Linked DNA regions of Homo sapiens: region 1 is linked to region 2. The links are contacts of gene promoters, found by promoter capture Hi-C in blood cells and fetal thymus (Javierre and others, 2016). All regions are on one chromosome and are shown on one strand. The core of a region is centred on a gene start or on the middle of the fragment in contact, and the rest is flanking DNA. Distances in the headings are between cores, read along the strand shown.

Region 1 (7,222 bases), core at 3,713-6,212, 39 kb after region 2:
GCATGAATGAACTACAGCTACTTACATCAATATGAATGACTCTTAAGAAATATAACATTAATGGAAAAAGCATGGGCAGAGGGAAACTCATAATGATGATCGCAGTTGGTTTAAGAGTGCGCCTAAAAAAGATATGTCCAAGTCTGAACTCCTGGTACTGTGAATGTGACCTTATTTGGAAATAGGGTCTTTGTAGTTGTAATTAAGAATCTCAGGCTGACATCATCCTGGATGTTTGGTGGGCCCTAAGTCCAATGACGGGTGTTCTTTTAAGAGATAGAAGCAGCAGGTTTTAGACACAGACACAGGAAAGAAGGCCAAGTGAAGACAGAGGCAAAGATTGGATTTATGTTTCCACAAGCCAAAGAATGCCAGGAACCACCAGATGCTGGGATAGGCAAGAAAGGATTCTTTCCAAGAGCATTTGGAGGGAGTTGAGCCCTACTGGCACCCTGATTTTGGACTTCTGGTCAGAACTGTGAGAGAATAAATTTCCTTTGTTTTTAGACACCCAGTTTGTGGTAATTTGTTATGGCAGTCCTGGGAAATGAATGCTCTAGATCAATGGTCCCCAACCTTTTTGACACCAGGGACCGGTTTCACGGAAGACAATTTTTCCACAGACCAGGGTCAAGAGTTGGTTTCAGGGTGATTCAAGAGCATTACATTTATTGTGCACTTTTTTCTATTATGATTACATTGTAATATATAATAAAAATAATTATAGAACTAACCATAATGTAGAATTAGTGGGAGCCCTGAGTTTGTTTTCCTGCAACTAGACAGTGACAGATCATCAGGCATTAGATTCTTATAAGGAGTGCACACCCTAGATCCCGCACTTGTGCAGTTCACAATAGGGTTTGCGCTCCTAGGAGAATCTAATGCTGCCACTGATCTGATAGGAGGCAGAGCTCAGGGAGTATTGTGAGTGATGGTGAGCAGCTATAAATACAGACAAAGCTTCAACCACTCACCTCCTGCTCTGTGGTCTGGTTCCTAACAGGCCATGGACTGGTATAGGCCCATGGCCTGGGGATTGGGACCCCTGCTCTAGATCTTAGGTTGGGTGATAAGTTTCTGGGTACTCATTTTGTGTTGTAACTTATGTTTGTCTTATGTGTGTACCATTGCATGAAGCAAATATTGTAAAACATGCTAAGAACAAAAAGTTAGAAAAGCATATATAACCAAAGGAAAAGTTAAGATCCCTGAGAGATGTGAGGGATTTCATGGTGTCAGATCTCTACTATGTTGAGGGATCATGCCAAGCATTTTATTTTTATTTTATTTTATTTTATTTTATTTTATTTTATTTTATTTTATTTTATTTTATTTTATTTTATTTTATTTTTTTTATTTTGAGGCAGAGTCTCCCTCTTTTCCCAGGCTGGAGTGCAGTGGCACGATCTCAGCTCACCACAACCTCGGCCTCCCAGGTTCAAGCGATTCTCCTGCCTCAGCCTCCCAAGTAGCTGATATTACAGGTGCCCGCTACCATGCCCAGCTAATTTTTGTATTTTTAGTAGAGATGAGATTTTACCATTTTGGCCAGGCTGGTCTCGAACTCCCGACCTCAAGTGATCTGCCCATCTTGGCCTCCCAAAGTGCTGGGATTACAGGCGTGAGCCACTGCGCCTGCATGCCAAGCGCTTTATAGGTGGTGTGACTTTTAATCCTCAAAGCAACCTTGTGGTAAGTATGTTACCCATTTTGCAGATATGAACACTAAGGCTGGGGGCAGTGAAATACCTGCCTTCGGAGAAAGAGAATAAGTGGAAAGGCAAAGACTCAAATGAGGATCAATTTGCCAAATCCAGGCCTTTCCCACCATAACACACAACCCTAGGCACATGCATTTACAACCCTCAAATACCAAGGTTACCAGCTACAACTCCAGCAAAAAAGGTAAACACATATCCATTTTATTTCAGATTTCTTTTCGGGCAGAGCCGGATGAACATCTTTGAGCTCACCATTTTCACATGAATTATGCATTTAATGGGCCTTATGTCTTCCAACATATCTCACCATGACCTATGTAGATCACCTTCAGTTAATCGAAGAGCGTGCTTCATCCATCATCCATTCCTTGTTACCAATCACAGTGCTGCCAATGCAGAAATCTAAGATGAAATGAAGTTTCCTTGTTCTCTTACTCCTAGGGGTGGGGGGGGAGGGGGAGTAAAGTTGCTTCTCCTGTAGTTAATAAAGGGATCAGCTGAGCAATCTATTCAGAAGTAATAAACTATCTGGAGGCAGTTACCTTGGGGGTAGGACAACCTGCCATCCTAGTTCACTTGGAACTGTCCCTGTTTCAACACTGAAATTCCCGCATCCCAGGAATCCCCTCAGTTCTGGGTAAACCAGAATGGTTGGTTACTTTTCCTGGGGAAAATGCTCCTTTTCTTCTAGGATCTGAAGTATTTACAAAGGGGTGGGAAAGAGCAGGTGGGGTCATCTGATTCAACCTTGTACTCCCTTCTGTGGCTCAGCTTGAAGCCTTGCTCCCCCCTCTCCTTCCTTTCTTCTATGAGAAAAGACATTTGTCAGACTCTGAGGCCAAGCCAGGATGCTGCAGCTGGGGGCAGGGGACACGCTCACCCACCCCGTTAGAGCAGGTGCCAGCTTCATCCTTTCTCTTCCCCGCCCCCTTTAGCAATCAGTGAATTTTAATTCATTGATAACCAAAGGTCAGCTTCCAAAGCTGCATCCCAGCTTCCCTGCCATCCATGCTTGGGAGTGAAAGCTGTGGCGACACCTTGCACTGATGTCCCCAAGTGGCAGCATGCCTGGTCCTAGTTGAACGCTGGCTCTTAGGTTCTGCTTCAGCACCATCAACTAATGGCAGGCCCAAGTACCTCTACAGTTTAAAAGACCTCATGCATACAGTGACTCATTGGATCCTCAGGTGAACAGCAGGCATGTTTGTCCAATTTTATGATGGAAACAGACTAAATGTCAGGGTCAGAAAAGTGGCAGAGCCAGACCTGAGACTGGATCTGACTCCCAGGTGCACCCGGCCTCAGGATGCCAAGGCCTGGCTCTGCATGGCTCCAAGAACAGCAGGGAAGAGGTGGAGAAGGAATCACCAGTTTTTCACCCTCTCACCTCCCCCACTGCTTTAAAAAATGTATCATAATCCTCAAGAACACACTCAGCAGATGGTAGATTCAGGAATAAATTCAGGACTGCCAGATTTTCTCCACCACAAAAACCTCACACATGTCTCCCGCCTTTGCCTCACACACAGAGTGGGAGATGAGGATCCCTACGGTGAGCACCCAGCACGAGGGAGGGACCTAGCAGCAGAGGGAAGAGGCACAGGAGACCCAGGGTCCCCTCTGTCCCTGCATGTCAGGTGGAGGATTCCCTATCACCCATCAAAGGGAGTGAGTTAGTTCAAGATTTGCAGGCTGGCCCCAGAGACCTGTCCCAAAGTCCCCAGGCTGAGCATGACAGATGTGTCTCCCTTTAACTGAGATCTGAGTCATCTGACTCAAAAGAAAAAGCACTCAGCTCATCTTTCGCTTCCCTGGCTATGAAGCCAGGGTCGGGAGGGAATGGGGTGGAGACTGATCTGTTAAATCCTATTCTGGAAAATAGCCTGGGGTAGGGTGGGGCGGGGAGGCAGGCACATGTGTGTACATGTATGTGTAAATGTGGCGCACACCTTCTCTGCAGAAAAGGTTTGAAAGCAGTGCTTGAATTTGTTTGCCAATGTCATCTACTTACTGGGTTCTGCTAAAAGAGCTAGACCCTGTGCTATGTTTTATGGAGGAGGTAAAGATTGGTGGGTCTTAGGCCCTGGTCTCCAGAAGAAAATGAATCATGTAACCATCGTCTTTATCCCAAGTGTACGATGAGCCAGGCATAAAATTAAATGCTGGGAGTAAGTACAGGGTCATTGTAAAGGCTTCAGTAGCATTTCAAATGGGATAAAGGAGAAAATAGGGGGTTGTGGACTTCTCTTCTGAAATAGGTGTCCTCCTCTCCAGTAGAAGAAAGCAGGTGCAAAGTCATTGGACCAAATCCCTGCCTCCTTTGTTTTCCACTTTTGAATAGTAAGGTGGTCCCCCAAGGACTCCCTCCACTGGCAGTAACTGGGGCAGATCATCAGGGAAGAAACCTTAGATTCTTCTTCCAGATGAGACTGGGAGTGTCCCTGGGTCATGCCCAGTGGAATCCTGCAATCCACGATTTCTACCCATGGCTGCAGGGTCCCTGCACCAGTTTCCCCTCTCATCTCCCTGCTTCAGGTCTCACCCATTCTGGTCTGTCCTCCAGAAGGCCACCAGTGGATTTTAAAATACAAGTCTGACACACTCACTATTCGTTTACCTATTTCCAGGGGTACAGAATAAAAATCCTACAGGATAAAATTCCAGCCTGTTTATTTCCTCTGTACCTTCAGCCTCATCTGTCTTTATGACCTCCACGTGCTCCCTCCCACTACCCATATCATGCTTGCAGGCCTTTGCCCAAGCTGTTTCCTCTGCTGGGACATAACCTTCCCTGCTTCCTATCATTTATGCTCCCAACTCTTACCCAACCCTAAAACTTAGTTTATATCACCCCATTTATAATGCTGTCTCCGCACCACTTATTTCCCCAAGGGTCCAGGGACTCAACAACTGCACTGACCACTATATCAGAATGAGTGGCTTATCTGTCTGTCTTTCCCTAAAGACAGTGAGTCCCCTGAGGCCAAAGATTGCACTTCTATCATCTCTGCAAGCCCAGGACCAGTACCTACAGGATCTCAAATGATAGCCTGCTAAACGTGCTCTTGAGTTAGCAAGTGGATCGCACAATTTCCTCAACTTGCCCAGGAAGATTCCTAAATGGCATCCAGGTTGTTTCCAGTCATCCAAGTCAGCAGGAGCCTCAGTGCGGGTGTTAACGACATACTTTCGGCACAGGACAACATGCCTGACGCATTATCCAGGCAGTCCTAAAAGTTTCAGAGAGGATTTCTCCACCTTTCTCACAGCCTGTTTCCTGACTCGATGACCTCTAAAATTGACTGATATAGTTTATTTTTTGGGTGCTTACTGTAGGAGATATACTTTACTTTTAATCCTTTAAAAGTAAAATATCTCACTTAATCCATAAAACACCCTAGTATATAGTCAGCAATATTCGATTTTTCAAATGAGGAAACTGAGGAACAGAAAGATTTAAAAGATCCCTTTTATTTCCTGTAGAGTTGAAGAACAGGATTATGTCCCTGTAAATCTTGCTTAGTAGCTACCTTCAAATACAAGAGTGCCTTATTTTAAAAATAAAATAAAAAGGCCAACATAGCAAACACTGGACGTATCTAATAAGTAGCAATAAGAGACAGTGGATTCTTTGGTTTAAAAACACAAGTCAGAAGCACTAATTATCAGTTCCCCCACCCCCTTCAAGTGGGGGAACTGATTTTTGTTTGGAAATAATTCAAATCAAATTAATGCAATTCAATAAATATCTATTTCATGCCTTCTATGTAGTAGGCACTATTCTAGAAACTTGGGAAACAAAGAAAGACAAAGAACCCCGCCTTCAAAGAGCTAGTAGTGAAAGAAAAACAATGAAAAATAAGTGTAATAAACAAGAAAATATGTACCATATTAAAAGGTGCAGTAGATAGCCTCTAAGACCACTCCAGTCATCCTCGCCGCCCAGTATTCAGCCCCTTGTGTAGTGTCCTCCTACACTGATCAGGGCTGACCAATAGGATTGATATGGTTTGACTGTGGCCTCACCCAAATCTCAACTTGAATTGTATCTCCCAGGATTCCCACATGTTGTGGGAGGGACCCAGGGGGAGGTAACTGAATCATGGGGACCAGTCTTTCTTGTGTTATTATAGTGAGTAAGTCTCACGAGATCTGATTGGTTTATCAGGGGTTTCCATTCTTGCTTCTTCCTCATTTTCTCTTGCTGCTGCCATGTAAGAAGTGCCTTTTGCCTCCTGCTGTGATTCTTAGGCCTCCCCAACCACGTGGAACTGTAAGTCCAGTTAAACCTCTTTTCCTTCCCAGTCTCAGGTATGTCTTTCTCAGCAGCATGAAAACAGACTAATGCAAGGATGTTACAGAAACGATGGACTATGACTTCCAAGGCTGCGTCAGAAAGGACATTGTGGCATTTTCCTTGCCACTGTTGGAACACTTGCTTTGGGGGCAGCCAGCTAGCTGCAATGTCTTGAGAATACTCAAGCAGCCCAGTGAAGAGGTCTACAAAGTGAGGAACTGAGGCCCTCACCAACAGCCAACACCAACTGCCCACAATGTGAGCATGCCATCTTGGGAGCAGCTCTTCCATTCCCAGTCACCCCTTCAAAAGATTGCAGCCTCAGCTGACATCTTGACTGCAACCACATGAGACACCCCACAACAGAACCACACAGCTAAGCCATTTCCAAACTTCTGACCCACATAAACAGTGAGACAACAAATGTTTACTGCTGTTTAAACCACTTGGATAAGGACTCTTGCACCTCTTATCCCATTTCTAGGAGTCTGGGACAATTCCAAGGTTCCAATTTACAACAACCTAACTTATGCAGTTTTCCAGAAAATGTCTTCTACAGAAACAAAAAGCTAAACCTGCCTAGGAAGTGACGTCAGAACCATATGCAGTAAAACTGTGAGAAGAAGAGCTTGCTAGGGTAGGCAAGGAGTCTCCTCTCTGTCTGATGACTTCCTCCCGTGGCTGCTCTGTGATTCTCTTGGTATTTCTAAGCACCTTCTGCGCATCAGGCTTATGCTGGGTTCTAAGGGCTCTGGAAGGAAAGACAAGGCCCATCTCACACATGTACTCAATCAACATTTGTTGAAGGAATGTGAGCTGCCTTGGAATGAGTTCCTAAAATGCTTAGTGAACTTTCAATCTTCAAATATCCTTTGACCACGTAAAAAAAGAAAGAAAGTAAACCTGCACTGTCAGAGGCACCTCTTGAGCATTGCCAGCCAGTGGCTGGCCCAGGGCCTCTCCAGAAGGCAGGAAGGGAGAAGTGGTTCAAGCCTCTGCATCTTTTACCCCTAAAGGAGGCAAGGGAAGGACAGGGAGGCTTGAACCACTGGCCATGTCAAGCATGGTGGGCTGGGGGGCAATGACTTGTGCCTGTGCAGCTCCACACAAAGGAAGTCTTAATGATGAATCAGGGCAGCAGGGTAAATATTTAGAAAGAGAAGCCTCTCCTTGGAGGGCCAGCCTTTGTCTTCTTGTTCGA
Region 2 (6,832 bases), core at 1,102-3,601:
AAATTTCTCAACAGGAAAGCTCTTCACGTACCTGTCAGCCAAAAAAGTGACACTGGCCAAACCAATTCTCTCATTCAGGAATTTGGAAAACCATTTGTTGTAGTGGGTTGAAATAGTGGGCCTCCATAAGATATGTCCACCCAGAATCTCAGAATGGGACCTTATTTGGAATAAGCATCTTTGCAGATATAATGAAGGCAAGGGTTGCAAGATTAAATCATCCTGGATTAGCTGGGCCCTAAATCAAATGACAAGTGTCCTTACAAGAGACAGAGAAGGAGAAGACACAGAGAGGAAGGCCGCATGAAGAAAGGAGGCAGAGATTGGAGTGACACAGCTGCCAATCAATGAATGGCCAAGATGGCCAGGAGCCACCACTAGAAGCTGCAAGAGAGGCATGTCACAGATTTTCTCTCAGAGCCTCCGAAAAGGAGCCATCCCTGCCAAAAACTTGCTTACAGACTTCTGGCCTCTTGAACTGTAAGAGAATGAACTTCTGTTGCCTTAAACCCCCTAGTTTGTGGAATTTTGTTGTGGCAGTCCAAAGAAAGGAAGCTGACACAGGGAGAGAAACAGAGGTGGGGGGCAGAGAGAGGACCCTTGGGCTCCTGCTGGTTTACACAAGTCCTCGAAGCCCTTGAGTTCTTGAGAAGCCCCCGTATCCATCCAACAACTGCCCTTTCCTGAGTGAGCTGGTCGAAGCCACTTTCTGTGACTTCTAATAAATCTCGAGCCCTTATATATGACTGTGTCCTAGCCTTCCACTGAGATCAGGGGTACCTGCAGGGTGCAGTCGGGGAAGGGGACAGCTGGGCAGAGTCCCCTGAGCCAGAAGGCAAGCGCTGGTCAGTGAGTCGAGGTGGGAACTGCCACTACACAGCCCCCTTTCTCAAAGGGGCCAATCCCCCCCCAACCCAAAGAGTCAGCTAGGCTCCCATGGCAGCAGGCCAGGCATCCGGCCTGAGGCTACCACTTGGATATCAGGTGGGGGGCAGGCACTTTGCTGAAAGCTGCTCATTTTGTTTTTAATACCCTCATCCTATAATCGAGTGCTGTTCCTTACTATTTATCCTCCAAGTACAAAGTTGGGTGATGTCTGGGCCCCTGTGGCTCCTGGGTGAGTGTAGGTGACAAGAGAAAAGTAACTCCTGACATGCAGAGGGAAGACCTGCTGGAATAGGCGAGTTTAAGACACCGAAGGCGGGAGGGGGTTTGGAGGAAAGGGGTTCCACTGTCACCTGCTGCCCTCCAGGGGCCAGCTCTCTCTCGGGCCAGGGGAGCTGGATCCCCTGGCTGGCTCACCCTGAAGAGGGCCACAGAGGCTGCAAGCAGGGCTCCAAGAGACGGTGTGCAACGGATTTCTCCGGGCATGGGGCAGGCAAGGTTTCAGGAACGCCAAAGAAAAGGAAATTCTCATATTAATAATTATATTCTCATATTATTATTTATATAAATTCTCATATTATTAATTCTTATTAAGAATCTTGAGGTGACTTGTGGGCAGAGGTGCGGAGGAGGGTGGAGAAGGGAAGGGAAAGAAGGGAAGGGTGAGACCAAGACTCAAGGCAACCTGGGAAATCACCCGATCCTCTTTTCCACTCTCCTCTTCGCACTCCCCAGATGAAGGTCAGATTCTTTCCCGTTTCTTCATCAGCCTGAACGGAGCAGCGACACTTATCCTTGCCCTGCGCCCTGTGCCTCTGGCATGGCCACTCTCCAGTCTATTTGAAAATGATTTTCACCCTGTTCAGCGGATGCTGCACATTTAGTGTTCCACAAACATTATATCTGATCATCCTCCACAGGGTAAACTTTTGTCTCATCTTACAGGTGGGGAAAGCAATGCTCAGGGAAGTTAAATTACTCGTCCAAAGTCACGCGACCACTAAGCAGCTGGAGAGGGGATGCGAACCCAAACTCCAAGTACCCTCCAGGTTTCCGCAACTCACTGGGCGGCTCACACTTTCGCGCTCGCGCCCCGCCTCCCCGTCCCACCCCAGCGAGGGGCGCCCAGCCCGCCCCAAGAGGAGCGTGCCTCGGCCGCTAATCGCCCGCCGACCCCGCCTCTGTTTCACTGCCTGGAGACGCCCTGGCCAGCTTAGCCCGAGCCGACTCCCGGGGCCGCGCGACGCCGCCGATTGGCCGGCGGTAATTACGGGCACACTCCGGGTTGGGGGAGGGGCGATGGCGGCCTCCCGCGAGCATAAATTATGCAAATACCCGGGCGCTGCACGGGGATGACCTGCCGCCTCGCTCCATTCACCCGGGCTGCCGCGGGGGCGGAGGTGGCAAGGGAGGGGGGCGCCCATTGTTGCGCCGGGTACTTAAGGGGTCCTGAGGCCAGTCGTGTGCCACACTCGGTGCTCACACGAGCTGATCTGATCGCCGGCGACATCACTCAGGAGACCGGCCGGGCGCGTGGCCCCTGCAGGCGAGGCGAGGAGGCCAGGCCAAGTTCTCCGTGCGCCCCTGCACCCTTCCAGGCTCTCGCACCCGCAACTGGCACAGAGTAACAACCCCAGGCTGTTGGGAACGTAAGTGCGCCCTGGCGGCTCTGCCCTCAGTCCGGGCTGCAGCGCTCTGAGCGCCTTTCTATCTGTCCGTCGGTCCTGCACAGCGCAACGATGCCAGCCCGCCTTGAGACCTGCATCTCCGACCTCGACTGCGCCAGCAGCAGCGGCAGTGACCTATCCGGCTTCCTCACCGACGAGGAAGACTGTGCCAGACTCCAACAGGCAGCCTCCGCTTCGGGGCCGCCCGCGCCGGCCCGCAGGGGCGCGCCCAATATCTCCCGGGCGTCTGAGGTTCCAGGGGCACAGGACGACGAGCAGGAGAGGCGGCGGCGCCGCGGCCGGACGCGGGTCCGCTCCGAGGCGCTGCTGCACTCGCTGCGCAGGAGCCGGCGCGTCAAGGCCAACGATCGCGAGCGCAACCGCATGCACAACTTGAACGCGGCCCTGGACGCACTGCGCAGCGTGCTGCCCTCGTTCCCCGACGACACCAAGCTCACCAAAATCGAGACGCTGCGCTTCGCCTACAACTACATCTGGGCTCTGGCCGAGACACTGCGCCTGGCGGATCAAGGGCTGCCCGGAGGCGGTGCCCGGGAGCGCCTCCTGCCGCCGCAGTGCGTCCCCTGCCTGCCCGGTCCCCCAAGCCCCGCCAGCGACGCGGAGTCCTGGGGCTCAGGTGCCGCCGCCGCCTCCCCGCTCTCTGACCCCAGTAGCCCAGCCGCCTCCGAAGACTTCACCTACCGCCCCGGCGACCCTGTTTTCTCCTTCCCAAGCCTGCCCAAAGACTTGCTCCACACAACGCCCTGTTTCATTCCTTACCACTAGGCCCTTTGTAGACACTGTTACTTTCCCCCTCCCCTAGTCAGCAGGCAATAGATGGGGCCCCAGCTGCCGCCTCGGGACCCCCTCTCCAGGCGGAGGGAGGAAGCGGGAGCTTTAAAGCAGTCGGGGATACCTGAGCCGCTTGTTAGGTCGCCGCACCCTCGCGGCGGATGTCTCTTGGTCTGTTTCTCCGGCCCTCAGCCCAGCGCCCCTCCTGCCCGCCCCTAGACGGCCTTTCCTTTTGCACTTTCTGAACTCCACAAAACCTCCTTTGTGACTGGCTCAGAACTGACCCCAGCCACCACTTCAGTGTGATTTAGAAAAGGGACAGATCAGCCCCTGAAGACGAGGTGAAAAGTCAATTTTACAATTTGTAGAACTCTAATGAAGAAAAACGAGCATGAAAATTCGGTTTGAGCCGGCTGACAATACAATGAAAAGGCTTAAAAAGCAGAGACAAGGAGTGGGCTTCATGCATTATGGATCCCGACCCCCACCACTGCAGACTCGCTCTAGGAAGAACTGGAGACTCTTGCTTAGCTATTCAGGCACAGGGCTGGAGAGTACTTTAATTTATTCAAGATGCTTCATTCATATGAAAATGTATTTTTGTACATAAAGAGTTTATTCTATTATGAGCTATCAAAGTTTACATTTTTGTACTGCAGACGCTTCATGTAAATAAAAACTAAAAATAAGTCGCCAAGTTTCTTGCCTAATATTAGTGTCTCTGGGGCTTTTCTTGCTTTTCCCTGCTGGCTCAACCACTAAAGTGAAACACTATCCCACTCACCTCCAAAGCCTCTGTTCCTGTTTCAAAAACAATTAAAAAATAAAACGCACCTGATTTCCACCAAGAAATGGATAAAGACAGACTAGGGCATTTGGGATCTATCATTCCTTTCACCTTGTAAACACAAGGGAGATCTTTCAGGCTCCCCATAAGCCAATTAAGACTTTTTAGTAGGGAATTAGCCCCGGATCCGCAGCTACCTGTTGAGGTAGGGGCAGTGGGAGAGTCTTTCTTTTGAGGAACTCCACATCAGCTGGCTCTGTGTTTCAAAGAGAGGGGATTAAAAAGATCAATACAGTGTGACCACTGGTTAGGAAGTCCCAGTGACAGGTGGGCCTAGGCTAGGCAAGCAGAAGGGTCCACTCTTATAACAGCCTATTTAGAGGGGGAAATTAATTTGTAAACAATGCCTCCAAATTGTTGTCCATTGAGGCCGAGTTCACCCTGGCTGTGAGGTGTGGGATGAATCATGCTGGTGTGGTGTCCTGAGTGGGGTGTGTAGCTGCCTAAGATTGTGAGCTAGGGTGCCTGCATTCTTCTCAACCCCCATCCCCCCAACACACACACACACACACACTTAACACCCGCTCCGGCCCATAGTGGTGGGGAAGGGGGGGCACACAGAGGGAGGGCTCGGGTGCAGGGCTTGCTCAGCCAGGCCTCAGGGGCAATAGCTAAAGCTTTCATTTGATGCCAGAGAAATCAGCTGCCCAAACTCAGTGGGGATTTTTCTGGCTGCAGTGTGTTTGTCTGTTGTCTGACAATTAGCTAACAGCATCAGCTAGTAGCAGTTTTTGTTTTAAAATTTTAGAATGTGAGTAATTACAAGAGGTAGTTCCTAAAATGCTTTTACTATTTCCTCAGCTCACAAGTTACCCCACATTGTTAAGACCAGATCTCAGCCAGGAATGGTGGCTCATGTCTGTAATCCCAGCACTTTGGGAGGCCCAGGTATGTGGATCACTTGAGCTCAGGAGTTCAAGACTACTGTGGACAACATGCAAAAGTTAGTCAGCATGGTGGTGTGCACCTGTGGTCCCAGCTACCCAGTAGGCTGAGGAGGGAGGATCACCTGAGCCCAGGGAGGTAGAGGCTGCAGTGAGCCCTGATGGCACCACTGCATTCCAACCTGGATGACAGAGTAAGACCCTGTGTCAAAAAAAAAAAAAAAAAAAAAAATCTTTTTTTTCCCCACTGGATTCTTCTTTTCATGAATATAGTGATTTGGTGGCAAGGGTACAGAGGAAGATGGGAATGGGTTCAGGAAAATGTGTCCTGAACACAAAGCTGGTACAGTGAATGATATTTATAGAGAAAATATATTTGTTTAGGAGGCACATAGAAGCAGAGGGCCAGAGTACAGTCACTGATAGCAGGTTCTACTTATGGAAGCATTTTCCCTCCTCACATGTTATCATGATGAGTTGGATCCACAGATCCATACACTAGGTCCCTGAAGGCATCACTAAGCCCAGCCATTGGCAAGGCACCCTCCTTCAGACACAAAGGCTACTTTGCAGAAGGTTCTGGAAGTTGAATGCTTTCTCTAAGTGCCCCCAGAGAGACAAAGTCATTCAAGAAAATCTTCAAATCTCTTCTGCTAAAAGCTCCAAGGAAAAAGTTGTGTCTCTAAAATAACCCAGCCCAGGGTCTCACTCTGTTGTCTGTCTCAGAATTGATTCATTTGACTAGCTTTGTGTCTTCTGTTTTCCTAGCGCAAACAGCAAAATGGTCTGCATCAGATTTTCTGCTCTCCCTTGCCTAGGATGCTTGGAAGTGACTCGCTGTAGCTTTCTGAAGGGCACGGGCCAGATTCAAGAACGGCAAGTCTCCTATGGAGAGTCCAGCCGTAATATTGGCACACGTGTCTGGGACAGGGGAAGAGAGCAACAGATTGTGTCCTGATTATTGTCCAAGATCCTAGGGGAAAGCACTGGCAAACAGCTGGAGCAGGAGCTTTGCCTCATACAGCTGCATATGTGCAGCACTGGAAGCAGGGGGGAAGACATGTACCACTGAGACTGAACATAGCAAACCGTATCCTCAAGTTTGTTGTCACAATAGGCTCACAACTCAAGATGTATGACCCAGAGCACCTTTCCAGGACCCAGAGCACCTTTCCAAAAAGAAACGTCTTTAACAACATCGTTGGTGGGGGGTATCTCTACTCCCGCCGGTTAATTCTATTCTTCTAAGGAAGTAAGCATATATGTGCAGCTCTTGGAGTTCTCAAATAGGGGAAAAGAAGAAAAGTGATTAAAAATGCTTATCCCCACCTCAGGGACCTCTTTCTTCCTGCAGCAAACTCTCATTCATCCACAGGCACCTGTGGAGGTAGGGGGTGGGGTAGGGGATCAGGGGTGGGGTGGGAGTAGGAGAAGAGCAGGCTGGTTACTAAAATATCCTAAACAATGATAGAACATAGACCTCCCTGCTGACAGCCATGTCTCTATCCTCCACATAGTCTTCCACTAAGCAACCAGGAGGCACTTCAGAAGGCTTCTTCATTCTCTACCTTTATCTCTACATTTATTTTTGCCCTGGTTTAACATATGTATTTATTGGCTTTTGTTTTTTTTTTGAGACAGAATCTCACTCTGCTGCCCAGGCTGGAGTGCAATGGCATGAGCTTGGCTCACTGCAACCTCTGCTTCCTGGGTTCAAGCAATTCTCCTGCCTCACCCACCCAAGTAGCTGGGTGTAC

What was found. Contacts are between HindIII fragments. The CHiCAGO score rates a contact against its expected background, and 5 or more counts as called.
Region 1: a contact is called between a fragment that was not itself captured here and the fragment with the promoter of NEUROG1 in region 2, in 1 of 17 cell types (megakaryocytes). The highest score is 6.0, in megakaryocytes.

The regions. Positions count from the first base shown.
Region 1 is chr5:135,494,424-135,501,645 of GRCh38, reverse strand. No RefSeq gene overlaps it. Among named protein-coding and RNA genes, the nearest start is that of NEUROG1, 38 kb to the left of the region's middle. RefSeq lists a silencer at 3,341-3,541. The HindIII fragment of the contact is 7,994 bases long and covers 966-7,222 here.
Region 2 is chr5:135,531,483-135,538,314 of GRCh38, reverse strand. NEUROG1 (neurogenin 1) reads left to right here and starts at 2,351. Exons shown (of 1, transcript NM_006161.3): 1 at 2,351-4,033. The coding sequence starts at 2,625. The coding sequence ends at 3,338. RefSeq lists an enhancer at 1,849-2,364 and a silencer at 2,482-2,776. The HindIII fragment of the contact is 9,722 bases long and covers 1-4,810 here.